Regions from separate parts of the Homo sapiens genome. Here all the other regions are linked to region 5. The links are contacts of gene promoters, found by promoter capture Hi-C in blood cells and fetal thymus (Javierre and others, 2016). All regions are on one chromosome and are shown on one strand. Each heading gives the region's core, a stretch centred on a gene start or on the middle of the fragment in contact. The rest is flanking DNA. Distances are from core to core; before and after follow the strand shown.

Region 1 (2,700 bases), core at 197-2,696, 1.2 Mb before region 5:
CTTTACCCCTGGAAAATAAGGCATCCAGGGCTAAAAGTCCCAAAAGAAAGAAGCTGGAAACAAGATCTGGGGATCCAATTTTAAATTTCACATTAATCATTCAGTTAAACTGTAGACAAGTGCTGAAGTACATTTTTCCTTCCAGTACTTTGACTCAGATACCACTTCATATTAGACAAATGTTTTATATTCTCTACTGAGTATTTTCCATTTTCATAGGGCTAATGTCATTTTCAGTTGTAATAATCGATTGGCATAGTGTCAATGGAAATTTTTTAAGATTGAGTTTGTAGTGAGCAGACTTTTGGAAGGAACAGTGCTGACATCCAATGGATGCTCAAAGTAATACAGAGGAGGAATCTCCTTTCAAAAAAAAATGTACAGACAGTGGAATGGAGAATGAATTATTCCCTAAAAAAAAAAAGCCACTGTGGGCTGGATGTGGTAGCTCACCCCCGGAATCCCAGCGCTTTTGGATGCCAAAGTGGGAGGATCCCTTGAGCCCAGAACTTCCAGACCAGCCTGGGCAACATAGGGAGACCACCCTCTACATAAAAAATAAAAATAAAGCTTTTAAGCTAACCTGGTGGCGTGATGGGATGCACCTCTGGTCCCAGCTACTCCAGAAGCTGAGAAGGGCAAATCGCTTGAGTTCAGGAGTTCGAGTTGGAGGTTACACTGAACTATGATAGTACCTTTGCACGCCAGCCTGGGTGACAGAGAGCTTGTCTTAAAAAAAGTAAAGAAGGCTACGGTGTTGTAGAGGAAAGATCCCAGACTTTGCAATTATAGTAAGTAGCAAAGCTACCAATTAATTATCTTAGCAAGTTGCTATTACATGAACCTATTTCACCATTGGTAAAAAGGGGGAAAAAATCTATTTCACAGGGCCATAATTATAGTTCCTTACGTATTGCTTTTTTATAGTAGGCCTTTTGTAAATGTTTAATTCAAGGTGAATAAATCACAGTGGTAAAAAAGGTGAAGAGTTAACCTCAGTGTTACTTTCCAAAGAAATTGCTATAAGGCAGTGTATCTAGGCAGGGATTATGCTTAATTGAGATGCACACAGTTTAACATCTGGTGTCAAACCTGGCTTCCTTCTTTGTGACCACCCTATAGATGTTTGCTTTTGGGACCACTGAGTAAACCAGGCCCTGAGAATCCAAGCATGAATCCACTTCTGCCCTACTTTTAAGGATTTACGTTCCATGCAGGAAAGCAGATAACCATAATTTCTGAATAAATAAGACAACAAAATGAAATGGATGCTGGTCAACTCTGATGCAAATTTTAAGAAGGAGACTATGCCTCTGTGTCTCCCAGCTTCACAGAAAAAAAAAAAAGAAAAAAGAAAGATGCTCAGAGTGGGGTACCTACACTTGGAAAAAACGCAAGTATAAGTCTGCCATTCCCATGAATCCAAGATGAATCCTGGCACAGAGTAGGTCCTCAAATTTTGCAAAATTAATTTTGAATCTTTATCACCCTGGCCAATGCACTGCCATAATGCAAATCTTACTATCTACCTTTCTATGTCAGTCACATTTTTAAAACTGTGTAACCTATGAAAAAAAAAAAAAAGCTCACCAAATCAAAAGAGAGGAAGTGCTAAGCAAATACAGGAACCAAAAAGGTTTATAGAGGCTGCCTTATGCTGTCTCATCCAGTTCCTTTGCGGTCCTCTTCTTCAGCACATGCCAAAGCTGTTCCTCACGGCCTGTGAGACAAGAGCATCTTGGATGTAGGACAATGGAAGAGTTAGGTGAGTGAGGAGCCTGAGGAGAAACTCTGAGGGAGTGAAGACTTGGCTGCCATCTCCTTGTGTGGTGGGGTATACTTCTGGCTAGACTGAGGGTAGTAATGGAAGATTTTATTTTCACTTCTTTCCTGTCCTCAGCCCTGCCAAGAGTGAAGCATGAGGAACTATGATTGTTTTGGGGAACTATGGGTTCACTGTTTGCAGTGGCAAAATAGATGGAGAGTTTGGTGCTAACCGCGGAATAAACTCTTGGCAAATACTTTTGGACTGGATTGTTACTGCAGTTGTTGTCTTGTTATGGGCGTTTTGCCCTTTGGAGGTCACTGGAGATCAAGGGTGGCCACATAGCGAGACAATGCAGAGATATGATTTGAGGAGGAAAAGAAAGAGCAAAAAGGGAATTGGGGTGTTATGAGGAAGAAAAGACGGACTAGAAGTATAAGAATGAGGGATCTGTAGAGGTTGGAAAAAGGCCAGAGTGGTTTCATTTGTTCCATGTTTTAGTATTAAATCAAGAAGGCATAGCACTCTAACTCTAGTGATTTTGTTGCTAAGCTTTTTATTCAGAAGAATTCTGAAGGAAGAGATTACTAGGGCCTGAAAATATGACACCTCCTTCCACTCTAAGACAATTAAAACCAGCAGTGGAACTATTAACCATATTAACCAGAGAAATCCTGGATTTCAAACCTTTGGAGTAATGTAAGGTTTGTCATTCTTGGGACTCATTCCATAGCCTTTGCCAACATCTGTTGCCAGCATCTTAACTAACACTGAGTCACTAAACTATACCCAATTTCCAAACTGTATTAATTCCACAGTGTCCTGGTTTGGGGTGTGTTTGGGGATAGGGTATGTCAAAAGTGCAAAAAACAACAACAAAAAATATCTTGCACATTGTTACATTGTCTTAAAAAAAATGGCGTGTGATTTCAAAG
Region 2 (2,700 bases), core at 168-2,667, 1.2 Mb before region 5:
CAAACTCCTGTTCTGCATCGTCCTTCACCGAAGCTATGATAAAAAGCTTTGAGACCTGACTGCATGGGGCGTGGAATAAAGTGTTCAAACTAGAGGAATAAAAACTGTCATTTGGCCTTTTCCTCTTCCAGGGGTCCCTTCCACACTAAGGCTACAGTTACAACTTCTCTGTCATCAATGTGCTATATGTTGTTTCTGCCACCCCCTGTGGCAGTGCAGTGGTTGTGAACATTTACAGGCTTTCATCACAGTGATCAGTCCCGGAAGTGGGCATCCTTTTATTATCAATCCATAAAGCACAGACCACAGATGGCCTTAGGTGGAACCTAGGTCTAGGCCTCAGTGTTGTATAATTCCAGGGCGTGTTGTCTACAAGGGGTACAATGTGAAGAGTGCTCCCTAGAGTTGTGCAACCTGTAGGCTGTAGAGCACTCAACTGGCCTCCTGTGTCAGGCTTTATTTCACTCCACAGGTGATCCATGCTCTAGGGCAATCATGGCATCCTGAGCATTTTGTCTGTACTCATTGCAAAGAAGAGATTGGCTCCAGTCCCTTCTTTGAGCGGAGTGGCTTGGCCTACTGCCCCAACGACTACCACCAACTTTTTTCTCCACGCTGTGCTTACTGCGCTGCTCCCATCCTGGATGTAAGTAAATCCCCGCTCCTCTCCAGCTTTCAGTCACTCACTTAGAACCAGAGTCATGCTTTACAACTTCTGCATCATTATAATATCTGTGTGTTCCCTTTCCAGAAAGTGCTGACAGCAATGAACCAGACCTGGCACCCAGAGCACTTCTTCTGCTCTCACTGCGGAGAGGTGTTTGGTGCAGAAGGTATGACCCGACTTGAGAGGCTGTATCCCACACCCCAGTGGGTAGTTATAAGACCAGCAACACCTTTCCTGGTAGTCACGGGAGTCCTGGTTCCTATCAGTACTATCAAAGTGCCCATTTCAGTACTAGATACCATCCCTCCCTACCTTTCTCCAACATTTATAATTTCCCTTTAAATTGATTTTTTAAATCACAGAAATACAAATGCATAGTTTAAAAACTCAAATATTACTTCAAGGGTAATATTGAAAAAGCCTTTTCTTGTTGAATATTGAAAAAGTCCCTTTCTCATCTCCAAATCCAGTTCTCCTCTCCAAATTATTTTAGCTGTTTCTTCTGATATTTACTTATTTTTTGTTGTTGTTGTTGTTTGTTTTTTTGAGACGGAGTCTCACTGTGTTGCCCAGGCTGGAGTGCAGTGGTGCGATCTCTGGTGCGATCTCCGCCCACTGCAACCTCCACCTCCTGGGTTCAAGCGATTCTCCTGCCTCAGCCTCCCAAGTAGCTGGGACTACAGGCACTTGCCACCACACCCGGTTAATTTTTGTATTTTTAGTAGGGACAATGTTTCACCATATTGGCCAGGCTGGTCTTGAACTCCTGACCTCGTGATCCGCCCGCCTTGGCCTCCCAAAGTGCTGGCATTACAGGCATGAACTACTGCGCCTGGCCTGCTTATGTGTTTTAAATAATAACTTTATATTGTTATAGATTGTTTTATTTTTCCAGTTTTAACCATTATGTATTGACTGTCTAAGAGGGAAGATGAGGTTTAGAAATGTTATTATTACCCCACTCACTCCTAACATATTTCCCCTCCCCTGTTTTTTCAATATATAATTATGTCATAATTACAGGTTAGATCAGTATTAAGTGTGCATATGTTGACAATCATAGAATACTGCTCACAAGTAAGCCATGTAGCAAACTGACTACACTAGAGTCTGGATTTTAGAGTCAGACTTCCAGGTTCAAATCTGGGTTGTGGTATTTGTTCAAGTCATTTAACATCTCTGTACCTTACTTTCCTCATCAGTAAAATAGTCCTAATGAAATTGCCTACCTTATAGGGTTGTTATGAGGATTTAGAGACAATACAAGCGTGGTATTTAGAATAGTGCCAAGCACATGGAGGTATAGTAGTGTTAATATTATTATCACAGTGTCCTTTTGGTATAAATTCATTTTTTTCTAAAGTTAACATTTGAATCCTTTTTGAAATTGGCTTAGTTTTTATTGTACTTATCACTAAGTTATGCAACAGAACTGTGAAATTCTTTTCAAAATGGCCAACTACATCTGGCAACAAGTCAGTTTCTTTCTTTTCTTTTTTTTTTTTCTGGAGATATCCCTCCAGGAGACTTTCCTCCTCCTGATTCAACATGAAATGATTTCTTCCTGCTGAGTAGCAGTCATTCTGGTTCATTAACTTAGAATTATATCTAGTAATTACTCTTGGAAATTCCTTTTATTAGTTTCCTCTTTGGATGCTCTGTTTCCTGGGTCCCATGTCTATGTTTTATACATGTTACCACCTTTATTTTGGTGGGGAACATCCCCTAGTAGCTTTCTGAGAAAGAATTTTTGAGAACTTGAATATCTGAAAATATTTTTATTCTGTCATTGCCCTTAAGTTGCCTGGGCATAGAATTCTAAGTGGAAACTATTTTCCTTCATAATTCTGAAGACATTGCTTCACTGTCTTCTAGCTTCCATGATTGGCAAGTTTTTATTAAATTTTTTTTATCCTTGATCCTTTCTACATGACCCATTCTTCCCCCTTTGTATGTTTGTTTCATGTGTTTTCTGAATTGTCTTGTTTTTTTTAATTTCTCCTTTTTATGTTTGTTTTGAACAAATATGGAAT
Region 3 (2,700 bases), core at 186-2,685, 1.2 Mb before region 5:
TTCTTTTTCTCTCTCTTCTCTCTACCCCAGGACTGCTTCACCAGTTTTTCTACTGGCTCCTTCTTTGAACTGGATGGACGTCCATTCTGTGAGCTCCATTACCATCACCGCCGGGGAACGCTCTGCCATGGGTGTGGGCAGCCCATCACTGGCCGTTGTATCAGTGCCATGGGGTACAAGTTCCATCCTGAGCACTTTGTGTGTGCTTTCTGCCTGACACAGTTGTCGAAGGGCATTTTCAGGGAGCAGAATGACAAGACCTATTGTCAACCTTGCTTCAATAAGCTCTTCCCACTGTAATGCCAACTGATCCATAGCCTCTTCAGATTCCTTATAAAATTTAAACCAAGAGAGGAGAGGAAAGGGTAAATTTTCTGTTACTGACCTTCTGCTTAATAGTCTTATAGAAAAAGGAAAGGTGATGAGCAAATAAAGGAACTTCTAGACTTTACATGACTAGGCTGATAATCTTATTTTTTAGGCTTCTATACAGTTAATTCTATAAATTCTCTTTCTCCCTCTCTTCTCCAATCAAGCACTTGGAGTTAGATCTAGGTCCTTCTATCTCGTCCCTCTACAGATGTATTTTCCACTTGCATAATTCATGCCAACACTGGTTTTCTTAGGTTTCTCCATTTTCACCTCTAGTGATGGCCCTACTCATATCTTCTCTAATTTGGTCCTGATACTTGTTTCTTTTCACGTTTTCCCATTTCCCTGTGGCTCACTGTCTTACAATCACTGCTGTGGAATCATGATACCACTTTTAGCTCTTTGCATCTTCCTTCAGTGTATTTTTGTTTTTCAAGAGGAAGTAGATTTTAACTGGACAACTTTGAGTACTGACATCATTGATAAATAAACTGGCTTGTGGTTTCAATAACTCATTGTCATATTTGTTTGGGAGATAAACTTTCTGCTTCCCGTGTTATATACTAGGCACTATGTACAATTAAGATTATATCATACCTCGTTTCCTTCCATCCAATGCACACTTTAAAATTTTTAATCAGAAGAAATTAAAAGGAGGGTCTCCTTTTCACTAATTTTTCTTTTTTTTCTTTTTAGTTTGGTCCCATAACCATTTTATTTTCTAGACTTAGATGATTGAATCATTTTTAAAAATGACAAAGCTTCTTAAAATTGTTTTTATTACTTTGTTTACAGGAGGAGAAACCCTGGCTCTCCATTAGAAACCTTACAAATTCATTTCTTTTTCCTTTTTTTTTTTTTCTGAGATGGAGTTTCGCTCTTGTTGCCCAGGTTGGAGTGGAATGGCGCGATCTCGGCTGACCGCAACCTCCACCTCCTGGGTTCAAGCAATTCTCCTGCCTCAGCCTCCTGAGTAGCTGGAATTACAGGCATGCGCCACCACACCAGGCTAATTTTTCTATTTTTAGTAGAGATGGGGTTTCTCCACGTTGGTCAGGCTGGTCTCAAACTCCCGACCTCAGGTGATCCACCCACCTCGACCTCCCAAAGTGTTGGGATTACAGGCGTGAGCCACTGCGCCCAGCCACAAATTCATTTCTAAAGTAAAAAATGAAACACAATTTCACATTTGCCTCCTGAAGACAAATGAGATGGCTGTTCTTAGAGCATCTCTGAAGAAAGATGCTATAAATAAAGCTCAAATGATTATTATCTAGAATTAGGAAAGCCAAGACTCAAAGAAAAATTCCTCTTAATCATTTGTTCATCTCAAAATATTATAAGTAAATGTTTAGAAAAGCTTGTCAGGTTATCAGAGAATCTGATTTTCTTATGTCCTGTCAGTTTACTGTCCTACAGTTTACTTTTTATAAAAGTAAGCTTCACAAGGACTAATCTTTCTGCAAAAGGGATATTGAGAAGATCAGTACAATATCTTTCTTCCCGTGGTCTTAAAAATAATTGTGTGATTATTTGTTATAACAAAAACCAGACTCTTAGAATCCTTGATTCTGAGATAAGTTACTGGCGAAAACTCCTTCACTGGAGGTATTTTTAAAAATAGGACAAAATTTGATGTCTTTAGATTGATAGAGGAATAGTACTACTTGGGAGAGCTGAAATGGATTAAATGTTTCTTGCCAAACTTTATTATATCTATGTCCTTTGTTGGAATGGATAATAAGGGGGTTGTGAGAGTTACAAGGAATTGGCAACAGTTAATTCTATAAAATAGGAACTCCAAATGCATGTAAGATATGTGGGAGGCCACACAGATACGGAACCATCTGGCCTCTATCCTGTTTGGCTGTCTGAGAGCGCCAGACTATGCAGAACACACATTCAACTTTTAAACATCCTCTTTGCAATGTCTTCACTCAACGATGTCACACGCAGGTGTTAATATGGCAATGTTCTTGGTTGCCTTGGCAATTTGACAAAATAAACTTGGAGTTTTAGCCCTTAAAAAGAAATGTACAGGTGCTAAAACTTTTTTAAAAAGGATTAGCTATTTTGAGATTCAATAGAATTTAACTATTTTTAAATGTCAAAGAAAATCCAGAGTTCACTAAGATGTAATTAAGAAGTGAAAACACTTTCTTCCCACATTGAACGGAAGTGGTTTTATTTGCTCAAAAAGAGATACTGACTTCAGGACCAGTGTTTTAGCAATAAGGAAACTACTCACAAGTAAAAAGTTCTGCTTTTTAAAAACCCTGGAAATGCCATTACTAAAATTGATCACGTACTTATTTACTTTTGGTTTTG
Region 4 (2,700 bases), core at 11-2,510, 1.3 Mb before region 5:
CATGCCTACCGTGAAAGCTGCCTCCTGGGTGAATGGCCTGGGTTGTAACTCTCCAGGGAAGTGGATGATTCCTGGAGGCTGTGAGTGAGACTGCTGGGTCAACCTCCAGTGGCCAAAGGCCAATAGGCACAATAGGGTGAAGTTGAGGCTGTGGCCAGATCATTCCTGGTAAGCAGGTGGTATTCTCTGAGATACTTAGGAGCTTGCTCCTCAATCAACTCTGAATCCAAGCTACCTGAGGCATTAAATATACCTGATGATGTCTGCATGTCAGTTACAAGTAATTTCAGATACTCAATTTGTCTATAACAACTGTGTAGTTAGCTATTTTTCATCATTTTCATTTCACAAATGAGGAAGCTCAGAAAAAAGAGTGACTTGTCTGAAAGTTTAGAAACTTATATAGACTTCGTTACAAAGCAAAATTCTGTACAAGCCTGTATTGGCTTTAGCCAAGGAGAGTGGATTAGAGACAGAGAATGGATTTCAGAATAAGAGAATTTTGATTACCAGATGTCCTATGGCACAAGATGTAGTGAAGTGAGCTTTAGAGCCAGAATTAAGACTCCAGCCCTGTCAGGTGCTAGAGGAGGAAATTTGGGCAAGTTAATGCTCATTCTCATTTTCCTCATCTAAGAGATATGTCAGAGGATTAAATAATATAAAATAATGCAGAGCTGCCTGACATGTTACATTATTCCCTTTCATACTACCTTAAATATGTGGATAGAAATACAGAATCTCTCAGTAACTGTTTCATATTTTCCTCTATGTGATTTTCAACAATTTGGTTTCTACCTCCAACCTGACTAAAAATGGGCTAGTCAGGGTTCTTCTCTTGAAGTCAAAGGCTTAATGGGGGGGGGGGGGTGGTCAGCTACTTGCAATTAAGCCATATAAAAGGAAATCATTCTCATCTGCAGTCTAGCTGATAGGACTACGTATTCAGAGGGCAAAGCATTGGCCTGGTGATATAGGGGCAATCTACCTTTTCTAGGCTGACTGGCCCTGGGAGTTTTGCCCAGTGTGAGTGGCCTGGCACCATGGAGATTTACTCAGCACGCTTGATTGGGCCTGGCCCTGGCTAGGAGGATTATGCTTCATCCAATGCTGAAGTCACTTGAAATTCCCCTCATTCATCCAAAGATACAGAAAAGAAGTAACTTATGGTATTGCTGAGAAAAGAACTTTATTGTTAGCTATTCTTGCATCTTTTGTTTTCTATGTGTTCAAACCAGATTGATCGAAATAATCTTTTATATTAAGAATCATAAGCACATAGATTTTATCTCACACCCAGACACTTCATCAAACCATCAAATTATCTTATTCTGTCTTTATCTGTAGTTCTCAGAGGGCTACAGAAGCCAAGAAATGAAGTTTTTATCATTTTTCGCTTTTGAATGCACCCACATTCAGAGAGCTCATTCTTGGGTGGGTCTGACGCTTGCAGTGGAGGTGGGATGAGGCAGGAGGCCAAAGCATTCCTTTTAAGAAATGTCCTGACCTAAACAGTACATTAACAGTACATTAGTCACACACGCGCGCGCGCGCACACACACACACACACACACACACACACACACACACACAGAATCAACTGAAGTGAAATCAAAATTCTACTCCCCCCTACCCCCTTCCTCTTTACCAATCCCCTTTACATCCTGGTGGAGGTCTCTCTGCTTCCCGTGTCTCTATTTCACCCCTTAACAGAGATGCTCAGGTACCTCATGAGGAGCTGAGGATTCACAAACAAAATTCAATCTAAATAACTTTTCAGATATGTCTTCCTGAAATATTTACTAGTCCTCTCCCTGTCTGACAAGTGATCACAACAATGAGTCATCCTTTGGGCATTGATCCATAGCAGCTTGAAATAACAGCAATACCAGAGCTATGACTTTACATTTTCCATTTTTATTAAAACTCTCCCTTCACTTAAACCTGATTATCTTAAGGCTAATTTTATTCCATGCTTGGCTTTCAAGTTTGTGCTGATTTGCGAGCCTTTTCCAAATCACCCTCTTACATGAATGCAAGAAAAACTCTCATCCATGCAATTCCTTGACTCAGGAAAACAAGATCTCTTTACCCACAGAGGACTTTTCAGAAGGTACTCTCTGAAAAGGAGGCAGAAGAAATTGTTTTTACAAAATGAGTTAGGGCTAGAAACTAAATCTATGTACCTTAAACTATAATTCAATCTATATAGTTATACCATATATGATTTCCCAGAGATCTTATCCATATCAGATCAACAGAATAAAACCTAATGAACAAAATCTTCTTGGGGTTCTATATTCCTAAAAAAACGTAATTCCATAGTGTCATCGTTATCCTCTTCTTTACTATAAGGCACACATCTAGAATACTAATCCATTCAGTCCCTTTTTCTATTTATCCATTTCAAATAAACATGATGCAATGTCTACACATTCAGATCTCATACATGTTGATTTTTGTTGCATGGTCTACTGCTCATTTCCCCTTTATCTTTTTCTAAGATTAGCTTTCCCCACACTTCTTTTGGGTGCATATTGTATGCTTCCTGAAAGACAAGTACACAGCGTTTTGCAAAGTGCTGACAATGCACTTGGTAAAGACTTGGTGATTCTGTGACTTAATTGTGACTTACACATTTTTCTATCTCCTCCCATTCAGTGGTTAGTACTTGTGCCTTTTGTGGACCCTCTGCCACTT
Region 5 (2,700 bases), core at 54-2,553:
TCAGCCTCCTGAGTAGCTGGGATTATAGGCACCCGCCACCACGCCTGGCTAATTTTTGTATTTTTAATAGAGACGGGGCTTCACCACGTTGGCCAGTCTGGTCTCAAACTCCTGACCTCAAGTGATCTCCCTGCCTTGGCCTCCCCAAGTGCTAGGATTACAGGTGTGAGCCACCGTGCCTGGCCGGGGATGTTTTCACCTTGTTCAAGTTTCCTCAAATCTGAGAAGTGTGCTAAAGTAGTAATAGGCCCTCAATATCTATTTATTAAACCCAGTTGAATTTATTTTGCTAGATAATGCTGGAATAGCCACTACTCAGAGGTTAAAGCTATGAGTTCAGGGGAGAAGGGTGCATTCCTGTTGTCTCTTACCCCAGGATTGATTTAGCAAGCTGGTGTATTGATTGTCAGGGAAATCTTGAGCTTACATATTCTGTACTAATGTCTTCATGTAGGACACATATCAATAGTCATTCTGAACATACAGTCACTGTGATTATGACAGAAGATAACTGGACTGGTGGTGTTAAGGAGGTCTGGGTCCTACCTAGCCTTGTTGCCAACGCACTGAGACCCTGGGCAACTCACTCCCCTTTGGGTCTCAGTTTTCCCATCAGTAAAAGGAGGTTGGGGTAGAAAAACTAAAACATCTTTTCCAGGTCTGGTCTCTGATGTTGCAAAATGCACTCTGGGATTATACGGGGGAGACCTGGCTTCCGCAACCACAGGATGATGTGGTTTCAAATCAGTTCTGGCTCCAAGGTGAATCTGACACCAGGACTTGAACTGGATAAGGCCGTTTGCCAGCCTCTTGGAGGTACCTATAATTTTCGGTTAAGGATGTGAAAATTTTGGGTGTAGACAGTGAACTTGACAGTTCAGCCAGAAAGCAGTGCACCCACGATGACACCAACACCCGCATACTCTCCGCAGCCAGTGGGAGAGGTCGTTTCCTCCCACAACTGTTCAAATACTTCTCTTCTTGTCCCATCGACTCCTTTCCATGACATAGAAACTATTTTGCAGAGAAACGGGCACGCATCATTCCAATACACACCCCCACCCCACCCCTGTACTAAGTCTGATACAATAAAACTACACAATTTCTCTTTAGTATCTAGTCTCGACTGAAGAAGTGTCTGTAGTTTCTAAAGAGCCCTACACACATTTTCTAGGCCGGATTCCCCCTGGGTGAGAGAGGCTTCACGGCAACCACCCTTCCCTCAGGTCCTCCAGAGTCGCTGACGCTCTATGCGACTGTCTCGCAGGCGGGCCCGACTCGCGTCTCTCTAGCCAGCTCATCCTCTCTGTGGCCTGTGTACGGCTTCCGGTGGCGGGACGCGGGGCCGCGCACGCGGGAAAAGCTTCCCCGGTGTCCCCCCATCCCCCTCCCCGCGCCCCCCCCGCGTCCCCCCAGCGCGCCCACCTCTCGCGCCGGGGCCCTCGCGAGGCCGCAGCCTGAGGAGGTAGGTGGTGGTCGTCCCCGGTCCCAGGAAGGCAGGGGCCCCGCTCCCCCACGGGACCCTCGACATGGACCATTCCGCGTTCGCAACCGCGGGGAGCGGGCGAATCCATTATGTGGGGCGGGGGTGAACCGTGGGTCTGGGGCCGCGGGGTGGTGGGAGCGGTGCGAGGGAAACCCTGCACTCTGAGCTGGATTGGGTCGCGTGCGATGTGCGGGCTCCTGGCAGACCCTGGGGTTCCGCTGCTCGTTGCCATGGCTCCCGCCGGAGCGGCCAGAGCGGGCGTCGGGTTGGGTGTCAGCGGTATTCCGGGCCCGGTTCTCCACCCAGGCCTGGACCTGGACCCTCGGGCACTGCAGCGTCCGTCTGTAGGTTTCCAGGCAGAGGAAATCCTGAGACATCCAGGCGCAGCTGGGAGTTGCTACCTGGCTCCATCCGTGAGCACAGCGAGGTGCTGTCTTTCATGCTTATCTGTCTTCCTCTTGAATTCAGATTCCCAACCTGCTGAGCATCCGCACACCCACTCAGGAGTTGGGGCCCAGCTCCCAGTTTACTTGGTTTCCCTTGTGCAGCCTGGGGCTCTGCCCAGGCCACCACAGGCAGGGGTCGACATGGCAGAGACACTGGAGTTCAACGACGTCTATCAGGAGGTGAAAGGTTCCATGGTGAGAATGGCTTGGACAGGTGATACAAGTAGAGAGAAGGAAGGAGGGTAGAGTTTTTGTCCATTAATGAGAGCTTGCTTTGGTAACGTTATTTTGGAAAAAGAAGACTCAGTATAATGTGTACCTAGTGTCTCCACCAACTCAAGGCAATACTGAGAGATAGTCTCAGAGTTATAGGGACCGTATATGCTGTTCAGTTCCCAATTCCTGTTTTACAAATGAGGAAACTGAGAATCTGTTAAGGGTTCTAGATACCAGAGTCTGGTTTAGAATCTAGACTCCTTGGCACCCTCAGCTGTTGCTCCTGCATTGATAATCTGGCCAGTCCACTTGCAGCAGGAATGTGTGTTAGGTAGAGCTGTAGAACCCAGGACATGCTGTGTACTGTCTCCATGCATCTGGGCCTGCTTTTCTTACAGAATGATGGTCGACTGAGGTTGAGCCGTCAGGGCATCATCTTCAAGAATAGCAAGACAGGCAAAGTGGACAACATCCAGGCTGGGGAGTTAACAGAAGGTATCTGGCGCCGTGTTGCTCTGGGCCATGGACTTAAACTGCTTACAAAGAATGGCC

Evidence for each region. Contacts are between HindIII fragments. The CHiCAGO score rates a contact against its expected background, and 5 or more counts as called.
Region 1: a fragment that was not itself captured here is called in contact with the fragment with the promoter of SSRP1 in region 5 in 9 of 17 cell types (naive CD4 T cells, activated CD4 T cells, non-activated CD4 T cells and 6 more); the score reaches 15.7 in naive CD4 T cells.
Region 2: a fragment that was not itself captured here is called in contact with the fragment with the promoter of SSRP1 in region 5 in 1 of 17 cell types (naive CD8 T cells); the score reaches 6.0 in naive CD8 T cells.
Region 3: a contact is called between a fragment that was not itself captured here and the fragment with the promoter of SSRP1 in region 5, in 10 of 17 cell types (total CD8 T cells, naive CD4 T cells, non-activated CD4 T cells and 7 more). The highest score is 12.7, in total CD8 T cells.
Region 4: a contact is called between a fragment that was not itself captured here and the fragment with the promoter of SSRP1 in region 5, in 6 of 17 cell types (total CD4 T cells, non-activated CD4 T cells, fetal thymus and 3 more). The highest score is 11.4, in total CD4 T cells.

Annotation. Positions count from the first base shown.
Region 1 is chr11:58,574,825-58,577,524 of GRCh38, reverse strand. LPXN (leupaxin) reads left to right here and starts at 1,669. Exons shown (of 9, transcript NM_004811.3): 1 at 1,669-1,765. The coding sequence starts at 1,753. RefSeq lists enhancers at 1,677-1,726, 1,737-1,796. The HindIII fragment of the contact is 1,747 bases long and covers 573-2,319 here.
Region 2 is chr11:58,547,919-58,550,618 of GRCh38, reverse strand. It overlaps LPXN (leupaxin), which reads left to right. Exons shown (of 9, transcript NM_004811.3): 6 at 473-646; 7 at 752-833. Among named protein-coding and RNA genes, the nearest start is that of LPXN, 27 kb to the left of the region's middle. The HindIII fragment of the contact is 2,737 bases long and covers 49-2,700 here.
Region 3 is chr11:58,525,054-58,527,753 of GRCh38, reverse strand. LPXN (leupaxin) reads left to right here. Exons shown (of 9, transcript NM_004811.3): 9 at 31-883. The coding sequence ends at 300. Among named protein-coding and RNA genes, the nearest start is that of OR5B21, 18 kb to the right of the region's middle. The HindIII fragment of the contact is 599 bases long and covers 1,136-1,734 here.
Region 4 is chr11:58,627,000-58,629,699 of GRCh38, reverse strand. No RefSeq gene overlaps it. Among named protein-coding and RNA genes, the nearest start is that of CNTF, 5.7 kb to the right of the region's middle. The HindIII fragment of the contact is 3,706 bases long and covers 1-2,700 here.
Region 5 is chr11:57,334,495-57,337,194 of GRCh38, reverse strand. It overlaps SSRP1 (structure specific recognition protein 1), which reads left to right and starts at 1,303. Exons shown (of 17, transcript NM_003146.3): 1 at 1,303-1,465; 2 at 1,955-2,127; 3 at 2,547-2,700. The coding sequence starts at 2,074. It also overlaps a transcript of P2RX3 not described here. RefSeq lists enhancers at 1,165-1,214, 2,065-2,134 and a silencer at 1,385-1,564. The HindIII fragment of the contact is 4,158 bases long and covers 1-1,365 here.